Linked DNA regions of Homo sapiens: region 2 is linked to region 1. Evidence: promoter capture Hi-C in 16 types of primary human blood cells and fetal thymus (Javierre and others, 2016). All regions are on one chromosome and are shown on one strand. The core of a region is centred on a gene start or on the middle of the fragment in contact, and the rest is flanking DNA. Distances in the headings are between cores, read along the strand shown. Region 1 holds the start of CA12 (carbonic anhydrase 12). Region 2 has its middle 16 kb from the start of RAB8B.

Region 1 (6,336 bases), core at 1,651-4,150:
CACACGGAGGGCCCAGGGAAGCCAGAAGCACAAATGACTACAGTGGTGGCAACAGCAGTGGGAAGATTTAGGGGGTATTGGGGCAGCAGGTTAACAAGACTAGAGAAACACTCCTGTTTCTCTAGCACAGCCTGTAGGTCTAGCACAGCCTGTAGGGACAGAAAGGTGTGATCCCTTTCCTCCCCCATCATAAAGGTCACAGTTGACACTCAAATAACAAAAGACAGGCCAACAAGTGACACAAGAGACTTCAGAAATGAAGACCCAAAGACTCAGGGAGAACGGTGTTTCTGCTTAGGTTTGATGAAGAACATGGATGGCCGTATAGAAATGTGATTGGAGAGAAGGGTGTGATCTCATAGTGATAGACTGAGGGGAACCCAGCAAGGCCTGTCCGTTCCAATTCTTCTTGACCTCTCTGTGTAGCATTGCTTTCTCCTGGGTATGGGGCAGGACCCCTCTCGAATGAGGGTCTTTAAAGGAGAAGGGAGAGGGGAGAGAGTGATGTTTCTAGATTTTATGGCTTGCTGTGGAGGAGAGGGGCTCTACTTTCTATGACCTGCCTGGGGAAGAGGGATTCTGGTTTCTATGATTCACTTAGCGGGAGAAGAAGGGGCAGGAGACAGGAGGATGGGAGAAGGTCAGAGAGACCTTGTTTCTGAGGCCTTTTCAGTTTCCTTCAGTTCAAAGTACTCAGCATGCCAAGGTGCCATACTTTGGGGTATCATGTTCTAAGCCCCCCAAAAAAGTGCCTGACACACAACGGGTGCTCAGTAAATAATGTAAGTCCCTTTCTTCTGCTGCCACCCCAAAAGAGGGACCCTCTCTCCCAGCTTCCTAGTGAGGATGGAATGATGTATTGAACCAGCATGAGTCCCATCTACTTACCCGTTACTAAGGGGAATTGTGATAAGCTCTTCATGTGTACCCCACTGTGCTGTTCTCCTATTCTCAGTTCATCTCTTTGCATCTCAACTTGGAAGGTAAGAACTTAATCAGGATGCACTGAACAATTGGCAGAAACTCATGTGAATGTAACTATCTTGTCCAGTTCCTTAACCTGTGCTAAGTCCAGGCAGGCACCTGAAGAAAAAAAAAAAAAAGCATGAAGGAGGCTTTTGCCCAAATGGCACTATACTTGGGGGATTCTGAGTAGGGCTGAAACAGCCTTTGCAAAAATTATAACTGAGGAAATTATGGCAGTGACAAAGATCAGACCTAAATGACTCAGTCTTTCTTCTAACTTTCATGCTGTCCTTATTCATTCCTGGGCATAGGCCAAACTAACCTTAGAAAGGAATTCAGTTTATGGTTTGACTCAGAAACAAAATCAATAATAGCCCTTTCCCGAAAAGACCCCCTTCTTGCCTGGGTGCCAGTCTGCCTTTGTACGATTAATCTATTAGTTACAACATTAGAAATTATGGTTTAGGGGTCCTGCGGCGTCAGGCTGCAAGAGTCTGAACCTTCCCAAGTTGCTGCTGGGGATAACATCGCTATTGTAAAATCTAACATCCTATTTTGCAGACCCTGCACTGGATGGATCAGCTGACACCACTCAGACCGTGTGTGATCTGGCTCAACCAGTTCTGCGATCCCACCCAGGAACAGAAGACTGCAAGAAAACGTTACTTCAACCCCCCTGTGATCCCATCTGCAACCTGACCAATCAGCACTCCCCAAGTCCCAAGCCCCTATCTGCCAAATTATCTTTAAAAACTCCCAGAGGCAGGGTGCAGTGGTTCAACGCCTGTAATCCCAGCACTTTAGGTGGATCACGAGATCAAGAGATCAAGACCAGCCTGGCCAACATGGTGAAACCCCGTCTCTACTAAAAATACAAAAATTAGCTGGGTGTGGCGGCGCGTGCCTGTAATCCCAGCTACCCAGGAGGCTGAGGCAGGAGAATCGCTTGAACCCGTGAGGCAGAGGTTGCAGTGAGCCAAGACCATGCCACTGCATTTCAGCCTGGGCGACAGAGGGAGACTCCGTCTGAACAAACAAACAAACAAACAACTCCCGGAATGCTTGGGGAGACTGATTTGAGTACTGGAATCCCAGTACTTTAGGAGGCCAAGGTAGGTGGATCATTTGAGGTCAGGAGTTCCAGACCAGCCTGGCCAACATGGTGAAACCCCGTCTCTACTAAAATTAGAAAAATTAGCCGGGTGTGGTGGTGGGCGCCTGTAATCCCAGCACTTTGGGAAGCCAAGGCAGGTGAATTATCTGAGGTCGGGAGTTTAAGGCCAGCCTTAAACTGGCGAAACCCCGCCTCTACTAAAAATACAAAAATTATCTGGGCATGGTGGCATGTGCCTGTAATCCCAGCTACTCGGGAGGCTGAGGCAGGAGAATCGCTTGAACCCGGGAGGCGGAGGTTGCAGTGAGCCGAGATCACGCTATTGCACTCCGGCCTGGGCAACAGAGCGAGACTCCGTCTCAAACAAACAAACAAAGGAACGAAAACCTCCGGTCTCCGGCACGGCAAGCTCTGCGTGAATTACTTTCTCCATTGCAACTCCCCTGTCTTGATAAATGGGCTCTGTCTAAGCAGCGGGCAAGGTGAACTCGTTGGGCTGTTACAGGACCAGTGACAGACCAAGGGCATGCCACTGAAGGAATCCCTAGACGCACCCTTCTGGATGTGAGACAGGCGGATCTCACCCACGCCTGCCAGCAGCTCCTCGGAGAACTGTGTTCCTGGGTCAGCCCTGGCCCAGAGGAGCGCCGGGGACCCGCAGAGTGCTGCTGAAGTCAAGGCTACAACTCACCTAGGATCTGGGGCGCCAGCCCTCCGGTGGGCAGGGCGTTCTCCTCCCCCACCCCCTCCCCGCACGATGACATCAAGTGTTTGGCGTTGAGTTGCTCCATAAAAGCTGCCCGGGGAAGCCAGGAGAGCGAAGGGCGGACGTACTCGCCACGGCACCCAGGCTGCGCGCACGCGGTCCCGGTGTGCAGCTGGAGAGCGAGCGGCCACCGGGAGCCCCCGGCACAGCCCGCGCCCGCCCCGCAGGAGCCCGCGAAGATGCCCCGGCGCAGCCTGCACGCGGCGGCCGTGCTCCTGCTGGTGATCTTAAAGGAACAGCCTTCCAGCCCGGCCCCAGTGAACGGTAAAGTTTCCGCCTGCTTCTTTCCTAACACTCCTGAGCGCTCAGCCGCCCCTGGGCTGAAGGCTCTTCAATGATAAAGTAAAATCATTGCTGCGGGGAGCAGGGAAGGTGTAGTACCAAATAGTAGATTCTCAAGAAAGGATGCTCCGTTTTCCTTTGCTGAGGTTGGGTCGGGAAGCACGTTGCTTTCTAGTGGCGCTTGGCGCAGATTTGGTGTTAAAATGTTTGCGTGTACTCCCGGGCACCGCCAGCTCTGAAGATGTGGCTTGGGAACTTGCTAACCAGGGAGGAGATGCAAAGCCAAGATTTAAAACAGCGTTCCCCTGATCCACGTTTAGAAAGTAGAGACATGACTGTGGCATTCTGATTGGGGTAAGCACAGAGAAAGGTTTGCTGTGCCCCTGTGCAGAACCCGCAGACAGTGGTAGGCGCTTTTCTTTGGAGGAGAGGATCTTTACCATTAAGTCTTACCTACAAGTCAAAGGGATGATGCATCCCATTCTTAATCATTGTTTTTCTCCAGGAGGGCTCTACTATGCTGAATGTACGTGTGTGTGCACGTACACACACACACGCACGCGCGCACGCACACAAACCACACACACACACACACACACACACACAGCATATTTCTGATTGTAATTAGAACACTAAATCCCAAAAGGCTGGAGGCTGAGGGACTGAATGGAGGCTCCGTGGAGTGACAGGAGGAGGTGGCAGAGGGGACCTGAACTGTGGGCTCACGCCGGGCCAGTGAGCTAACACGTGTACAGCCAAGGCTGGTTCATTAATCTTTTGGAATAAGAAAGTGATTTTGGACCGAAAGTGATTTTACTGGCTGAAACTAGATTCTTCCTGGCGAGGCAGTGGTGGTGGGAAATGTGTCCTGCTCAGCAGCATAAAAGCTCTGAGCCTCCTCTCTTGGAGGTCACAGTGCCCATGGGGAAGGGCAGGGGAGCCAGGCTGTGGATAACTCTTAATTAAATTCCAGTCAACTAGCTGGCATGATGTGCTTGATATTATCTCCCTCATCTGGTCAGGGAGAAACAGAAGCGATGTAACAGAAGTTGGGAGAAAGGAGCGATGTAAAAGTGAAAATCAAGTTTTAAAACCACAAACTTTACATGTTTCCTTTTACGAAAGCTGCACTGAGACCAAAGTTTCCCTGGAAATCTCTTTAGTCCTAAGTTGCTCCAAGACCAAAGGGAGAAACAGCCATTAGTTGGCCCTCTTTCCTATAGCTGGTTGCTCCTCTCACTCTGGGGCAGCTCTGCCTCCCTTCTCTCTCTTTTCCTGCCCTTCCCTGTTCTCTTCCCTCCCTCCCCTTCCTTTCTTCCCTACTTTCCCTGCTCTTCCTCTTCCCTCTCCCTTTCCCTCCTCCTTATCTCCTCTCCCAATTCTCCAAGTTGGGACTGGGGAAGTTTGTAGTCAAAACTCCACTTTCGCCTCACTCTGAGGAAGGAGACTGCCTACCCCTGGGTAGAGCACAGCTTTTATTCTGTAAATTCTCATGCAGTTTCCTTGGGTTTTTAACTGCCTTAGAGGACAGGTCAAAGCAAAAATCACTGAGGTGTAGAATGTCAGCATGAACCCAAAGTTGGAGGTGGAGAGGAGTTAAGCTGAGTAATGGGGTCAAAGTGTGATCTGCTCTCTGCCTGGTGCATTTAAACTTCCAGCATTGGAGAATGTTCAAGAACAATGTCAGGGGCCCAGGAGGGAGCATAATAATGTGAAGTCAAGTGTCTTCTGGAGAAACCCTTGGAATTCTTAGTTGCCGTGGCTTTGGGGGGCATTTCAGTGAATTCTGCAGAGCTTGCCCTGCCCAAACCTGGTGTGGAGAGCCAGGCAGTCTTGGGCTACCCAGGAGATGGTTACTCAGGGAAAGTTCTAGCACCCAGCACAGGAAGCAGGCAGGGCCCAGGACCTCTGATATGGATCTTGGTAAATACCATTTTCTCTGGGCATTCCCTCCAGGGGAACCTCCCTGCCCAGTACCAGCTGGGTCTGCAGGTTCTAACAGGTTTCAGGCTGAGCCTCCCAGGTTTCCCAGATGGAACAGATAACCTTCCTTGGGAAGGAAACTATTCCCCTCCAGGAAGGGCCTGCTCCCTCAGGATGCCACTGAGGCCTTGGCCTGGCCTCGCTTGTGGAATCAGTTTAATCCTTTTAAGCCTTCTGTTCTTACAGCTAGAAGTGGGGAACCAGGGGGTGCAATTCCTGAATAAAGCACACTTTCGTGCGCGTGCACACACACACACGCACACATACACACACTTTTAGAGAGACTTCCTGAGGTCAGAGCTGAGCTGGGGCCCTGATCCTCACCCGATGAACCCCCTTGACTCACCATCCTCACTTACAACGCCGCTTCTCCCCAGCCCTCCAGCTCCTGAGCCCCTCCAGACACTGCCATTTATACCCAAAGTGCCGAGTCTGGAGTCCCAAGCCAGCTCACTCACAGAGAGGAGGGCAGGGAATGTTGCTCTGGAGGCTGCTGCCTTTCAACAAGTCCCCAGTCCTATGTCACCACCGCGACCTCACAGTCCCAGATGTCCACTCTATGACTTTTAGCCCTGAGCTTTCCAGAGTGTGATGCTGAGGCCTCATCTGAGGATGAGAACTCCAACAACAGGGAAAACCTTGATTAGCGAGCCCTGGGAGGGTAGCAGAAGATGTAGGGTATAAGGCTATGATTTGAATGTGAGCAGGTACAATGCAAACTGCTGGCAAGGCAGCAGTGCTCAGGCAGCAGATGTGTTTCTAGTGGCCTCCAGGATCACTGGAGTGGCCTGTGCCTCCTCAGGGGAAAAGTAAGGGTGAACTCCTCTGTTATTTGTGGAATTTTACATCCTGGGCCTCCAACTGTTCTGCCTGCTAAGAGGTAATGATCTGGCTTATTATATCTCTAAGGTCTGGGATTACATCTTAATAATGAACCTCTCACACAAAAGACTGAAGAAAATGTCCAGAAGAGGTTTTATGTCTTCTATAGCTTGGTTTGAAAGCAATGCTTTCTTTATTTTTTTTCATTGTTGTTTCAGCAAAGGGGTGAGCAGTAAACTTGGGGGTCACATACAAGTTTGGTTTCCCCGTGGTTCTGAATGTCTAATTACTAATTCAAGGGAGGTTGATCTTGGGACCCTCAACTCTCAATGCACCCATAGCTGGTTTCAGGGGAGTCTGTGGACCTTCTGAAATGACTTGTATATAAAACTTTATGTGTCTA
Region 2 (6,336 bases), core at 1,151-3,650, 210 kb after region 1:
GCTGGGATTACAGGCATAAACCACTGCGCGCAGCCTTATAGTTATTTCAAAACTAGTTTATATTTATTTAGACACTGGTAGTCTATAATTAAGTGGATTACCCAGTGTATTAGAACACCTAATTCCCTAACTATTGTTGATACATGGAAGGTTACCACACTCAGTATCAATGACATTGGGTTTTACTAGCAATCAACAGCATCACCTAAGAGCAATGCTCTTGGGTGAACCATCCCAGCAAGGTCTTGCTGACCAGCGTTGAGTCACCTACTTTAGACCCACAATTCACCTTAAATGGATGAGCAAGGAGGATGAATCAAGATGACATGGGAACCTGAACTGCATTGAGCGAGGTTTCAGGGATGCCTTCGGGAAGCTGGATGCTTGTACAGGCTGCAATATAGACCAAGTTGCCAAGTGACAACCAAAAATGGGATTAGTCAGGGAATAAAAATTGTCCCTAGCTTTCCAGAATGGCTCTATCTGAACAGATAGTGGATCTGTTGGGGAGAAGGTGAAGGGGGTAGGAAAAGAACCTGCCTGTTTACACCCCAGAAGTGACCACCACCTACTAGTCTGAACCAACTTTTAAATTCTGATTTGGGCTCTGTTTCTACCTCCATATGAAAAGCGAAAAAATTTAAAGGAAGCCGGGTGTGGTGGCTCATGCCTGTAATCCCAGCACTTTGGGAGGCCAAGGCTCTTGGATCACCTGAGGTCAGGAGTTCGTGACTAGCCTGGCCAACCTGTCTCTATTAAAAATACAAAAATTAGCTGGGCATGGGCGCCTGTAATCCCAGCTACTTGGGAGGCTAAGGCAGGAGAATCACTTGAACCCCCTGGGAGGCGGAGGTTGCGGTGAGCCAAGATCGTGCCATTGCACTCCAGCCTGGGCGACAGAGCGAGACTCCGTCTCAAAAACAGAATAAAACAAAACAAAAACTTTAAGGAAATTAAATTATATAACCAACCTCCAAAGATCATTAAGGAATGTATCCTTCATATATTATGAACAGTATTGTTGGAGAAAGTTGAACTAACCCTCGCCTGAGCCGAGAATCCAGAATTCAATGCTGTTAACGTTTGAACACACAACAACGAATTTGCATCCAAATAAACATTGTACACATTTCCTTACATCTTTTGCCTTGAGAATTTGGTGATGAAAATACTTTTTACATGTGGACATATTTCCCTTAATATTAAATGTTGTAAATTATTATGCAAAACTGAGATATGGGGGAACAATAAGGAAGCTCATAATTTTAGCTTCTTTGCATCTCAAAGCCAGGACTGTGATCATGACCCTGATTCTGAAGGAAATGATGTGGACAGAAGCTGTTTTGTCTGACAGCTCCTCACAACCTTGACTGACCCAAGCAACCCCCACAAAAAGCAATGCCCAGCAGTCCAGGGAATCAAGCTTCTCTTCCACCCCCTTGGTCCATTCTGGGGAGGCAGCAGCAGTGGCACTGACCTTAGGATCATCCTCTAGAGTTTTGATGTCTGGTTTTGTATGGGAGTGCAACCTTAGCAGTAAAATATTTACTTATGGAGCTCATTCATTTGTTCTCTGGCCCTTATACCTACTGGAGATAATGCCTACTGCCCAGAATAAGTAAGTTATTTATTGGAGGTAGCAGATAAAATATTGAAACAGCTCATGCCTTTGTGTTGTATAGTTGAGGTAGAAATAATGGTACCCAGATTTGTGCAGACTCTATTAACTCACATCTTTGGCTTATTTATTATTTGGCCAGATATGATTTGCTCTTAGGTCTTGGCAAGAGGGGCCTCTTCCCCTGGGGCCCACTGTGTAGAGAGCCCTATGCTACCCTTGTTCTCTTCTGGTCAGTCCTCTCCACTGGGCAAGGAGTTTACAGGCTAAGTGGATTTACTCACCCAGAGCCATGCCATCTTTTTAGGCTACATTCCAGGTACCCAGAACTCAGGATTCCCTGCCAATGGCCCTGCTTCCAGGATTGGTATGGGCCTCTTCTCCTGATCGATCTTTCTTTCTTTCTTTTTCTTCTTTTTTTATTTTTTGGAGACGGAGTCTCGCTCTGTCACCCAGGCTGGAGTACAGTGGTGTGATCTCAGCTCACTGCAACCTCCACCTCCGGGGTTCAAGCAATTCTCCTGCCTCAACCTCCCAAGTAGCTTGGATTACAGGCACACATGGCCACGCCCGGCTAATTTTTTGTATTTTAATAGAGACAGGGTTTCACCGTGTTGCCCAGGCTGGTCTTGAACTCCTGAGCTGAGGCAATCCACTCATCTCGGCCTCCCGAAGTGCTAGGATTACAGGCATGAGCCACCGTGCTCGGCCTTTTTTATTTATTTTTTATTTGAAACTGAATCTTGCTCTGTTGCTCAGGCTGGAGTGCAGTGGCGCAATCTCAGCTCACTGCAAGCTCCACCTCCAGGGTTCAAGTGATTCTCCTGCCTCAGCCTCTCGAGTAGTTGGGATTATAGGCACCTACTACCATGCCCAGCTAATTTTTGTATTTTTAGTAAAGACGGGTTTTCACCATGTTGGCCAGGCTGGTCTCAAACTCCTGACCTCAAGTGAGCCTCCCAAAGTACTGGGACTACAGGTGTGAGCCACTGCACCCAGCCCTGATCTATCCTTCTGAGGGTGGACTGTACAATTGGGCCATAGCCCCAAGTGGCCACCAAAAGGGGGTGATGATATGGCCAGCGCTTGGACATATGGGCTGGAATCCACATCGTGTGTGTGTGAGGCCCTTCATGATGTGGGCCCAATTTGAGGGGTGAAGGAAGGGCACTGTTCTGGGCCAGGGCTGCTCTCCTGGGCCACCACGTTTTGGTATGGACCTCTAAGGAGCTGAAATATTCTAAATTCAAACCAATTATCTGCATCATTGTAAAGGTATATCTGTCAAGGTAGGAAACCCAAGTTTGTTAGCTTTGGCTAGAATTTTTAAATATTTAGACATATGATATGTTGGTTTTCATTTTCATTCTTGCTCCATGCCCCACAAAATGGGGCCTGTCCTTGGAATGTGTTTGATTTTGAGTGTGTTTAAAATTCTAATATAAAGGCTCTGGTAAGTGGTTGGAGTGTGGGTAATGGGTGGGCCACTTTGCCACCAGGTCAAACAGAGCATTGCTGCCAACCAGCGCTCCAACTACGTTCCAACATCCTTCTGCTCCCTGACCCAACAAGGGAAACTGTGTGTGTGTGTGTGTGTGTATGTGTGTGTGCGTGTGCGCATGTGTGTGTGTGTGCTTGCGCGCGCATGTGTGTAATATCCACTGAGAATCAGGAAAACATGACCTGGCTGTGCTCACATCATCCAAACCTCACACTGATGTTCTGTTCTAGATCGCCACGGCTGCTCTGCCAAGCTTCTCTTCCCACTTGGCTTCCTTTAGCTGCTCAGAGTTAGGAGCTAGGCATTTTGAAGTCCTCCTCCAGGAGAAGAAGAATGAACTAGAAAGGGAATCATGCCAGGCTTCCTTGATTGAACCCCACTTCACTTCAGCAAATCCTTAAGCCTTTCTGTCTGTTTTGTCAGCTGTAAAATAAGCAGACTAATTCAGCTCTACCTCAGAGGGCAATGAGTGGCAGGTTTAATTAATGCTGATTGTGATGGGCTTTGTAATGTAAAGTTGTATATAAATGAAAAAGAGCTTTAGAGCCATTTTATCCAAAGTCAGCTAAGTTTGGAGTGCATCCTGCTTTCCACTGCTATGGTTAAGCCTCTGAGTCCTGATCACAGACTGCTGCAGACAACAGAGGAGCAGGAAGGCACAGTTGGCTCACATTGCCTGAACAGAAAGCAGGGCTTAGCAATGGCAGTGGGGGGGCAGAGCATGTAATCAACGCACATCTCAGATGTCTGCATGGCAGGCAGCTCCAAAATTCACTGGGTCCAGCTGGTGGCAGATGATGGGCTGGTTTTTGCAATCAAAGTACAAAGAACAAGGTGTATCCGTTTATTCCTGGGACTGTTCTGGAGAGATCCTTGAGATCTAAAGTGTCACACTGAGGGAAAAGCTCTTTCCAAAGATCTCCTCTGCAGGTCTTCCTATCATCCCTGCCTGGGTTTGCTGGCTGACAGCTCATGATAGGAGTCTTTTCTTCAGGGACAGTGCTTACTGAGAACACGCTACGAGGCTCAGGCCTATCTAGGATCCATTCCTTCCTTTAAAGTCTTGTGTCTTTCCTACTTCACTTAAAGACATGGTGATATGGTTTGGATTTGTGTCCCTGCCGAAATCTCATGTGTGAATTGTAATCCCCAGTGTTGGAGGAGAGGCCTGGTGGGAGATGATTGGATCATGGGGGCGGCCTTCCCCCTTGCTGTTCTCGTGATAGTGAGTTCTTATGACATCTGGTTGTTTAAAAGTCTGTAACACCTCTCCCTTAGCTCTCTTCCCCCTGCTTCGGCCATGTAACACGTGCCAGGCCGAGAGCAGTGGCTCATGCCTGTAATCCTAGCACTTTGGAAGGCCGAGGCGGGCAGATCACGACGTCAGGAGATCGAGACCATCCTGGCTAACGCAGTGAAACCCCATCTCTACTAAAAATACAAAAAATTAGCTGGGCGTGGTGGCGCATGCCTGTAGTCCCAGCTACTTGGGAGGCTGAGGCAGGAGAATCGCTTGAACCTGGGAGGCTGAGGTTGCTGTGAGCCAAGATTGTGCCACTGCACTCCAGCCTGGGCAACAGTGGGAGACTCCATCTCAAAAACAAAAACAAACAAACAAAGACAATGTGCCTGCTTTCTCTTCGCCTTCCACCATGATTGTAAGTTTCCTGAGGCCTCCCCAGCCATGCCTCCTGTACAGCGTGTGGAATTGTGAGTCAAACCTCTTTTTATAAATAAATTACCCAGTCTCAGGTAGTTCTTTATACCAATGTGAGAACAGACTAATATACATGGCTACCTAACTTACCAGAAGTCATAGTGGTCCCACTGAGGATCACACCTGGGCACTGTTGGTTACTTTGGCTAACATGGGATTTCTGTCTCTTTCACACAATTCATCTAGCAACATTCACATGCAGCAAATCATAACTTGTATATGCTTAGTGGACATGACCACTCCTTCCCTTAATCTCTTAGAGCCCTGTGTTTCCAGGATGACAGATCATATTCAGTATTATGTTATAATTATGCTTATACAGGCTCTTCCTAATATTAGATGACCTTGAGCTCCTCAAAAACCCCAAGAGGGTCTTAATCATTTTTATATTGCCCTTGACCTCGGTACTTCTTTATAGAAAATATAAAAGATACTTGTTCAAATGCACTGGAAATAAAGACATAATGAGTGATGAAAACGATAGGAAGGCCTAATGTCCATTAGGGAGTTTTGTTTTCAAAATTTAAAAAAAATCTTGTTGGAAGATCTAGATATATTATATTCATAAGGATGAAAGGTCTTCAGCTTCAGCCAGACTTAGGTTTATAGCTTGGTTCTGCAAGTTACCATTTCTGAGAACTTAGGAATGGTACTTAACTATCTCTGTGCCTCAGTTTCCTCATGTGTAAAATGGGGATAATATTACTATCTACCTCATAGGGATGTTGGAAAGATCAAATTAGATAATCCATGTGAAGAGTGCCTAGCACGGTGCCTGGCACAAAATCAGTGCTCAGGTGATATCATCATCATCATCATCACCACCACCACCACTATCAGAGATTATGGGGGAAGGAGTCTTAGTTGCTCTCCAAGGCTCACAGTATAGCCTTTGGATTTAACAACGTGCCCCATAGTTCCCTTAATGGCACCTTATAAGTCAGAAGCAGGACCCACTTAGGTCAGAACCTCTAGATTTTCTGCTTCTCACCCCTTATTTCAGATTTTCTTCTTTGGCCACTTGAAGAAGTGTGAATAAGATAGTTCTCATTTAGACATAATGTGAGGGCTGTTTAGAAAGGCATTTTGCAAATAAATTACTTGTATATTATGCATAGTAATTTTGTTGGTTGTAAAATATACTGTTAGACACATGTAGATCCTTGTAAACTGACTCAGTTCCAATGTACTTGGTATGTCTTTAGTTTAAATGGTTTCTCCCCTCAACATGTGGTCCTCGGATTTGATTGTTCCACAGGAAAAAATGTTTTTGTTGTAGACATTCACCACCAGTTTGCCGAAGTTTGTGGAGAAAATGTTTTCAGTTAACAAACAATGTCCCATTAATGCTAGGGGTTTGAGGGAGAAGGCAGGCAGCCTGGAGGGGGTAGCGCAGAGCCACCAGCTGTGGTGCCAAAGGCAGCAAAGACGCCTGGAGGGAGTGGGCACCTTTAGGGTCTTCTGTTCAGTCTGTGCCTCCTTTCCTCAAAGTTGCCCCTA

What was found. The method cuts DNA at HindIII sites, captures the fragments that hold promoters and counts their contacts. A CHiCAGO score of 5 or more calls a contact.
Region 2: a contact is called between a fragment that was not itself captured here and the fragment with the promoter of CA12 in region 1, in 2 of 17 cell types (M2 macrophages and M1 macrophages). The highest score is 5.4, in M2 macrophages.

The regions. Positions count from the first base shown.
Region 1 is chr15:63,378,410-63,384,745 of GRCh38, reverse strand. CA12 (carbonic anhydrase 12) reads left to right here and starts at 2,900. Exons shown (of 11, transcript NM_001218.5): 1 at 2,900-3,110. The coding sequence starts at 3,026. RefSeq lists enhancers at 2,176-2,695, 2,696-3,216. The HindIII fragment of the contact is 7,810 bases long and covers 1-6,336 here.
Region 2 is chr15:63,170,445-63,176,780 of GRCh38, reverse strand. No RefSeq gene overlaps it. Among named protein-coding and RNA genes, the nearest start is that of RAB8B, 16 kb to the left of the region's middle. The HindIII fragment of the contact is 1,949 bases long and covers 1,426-3,374 here.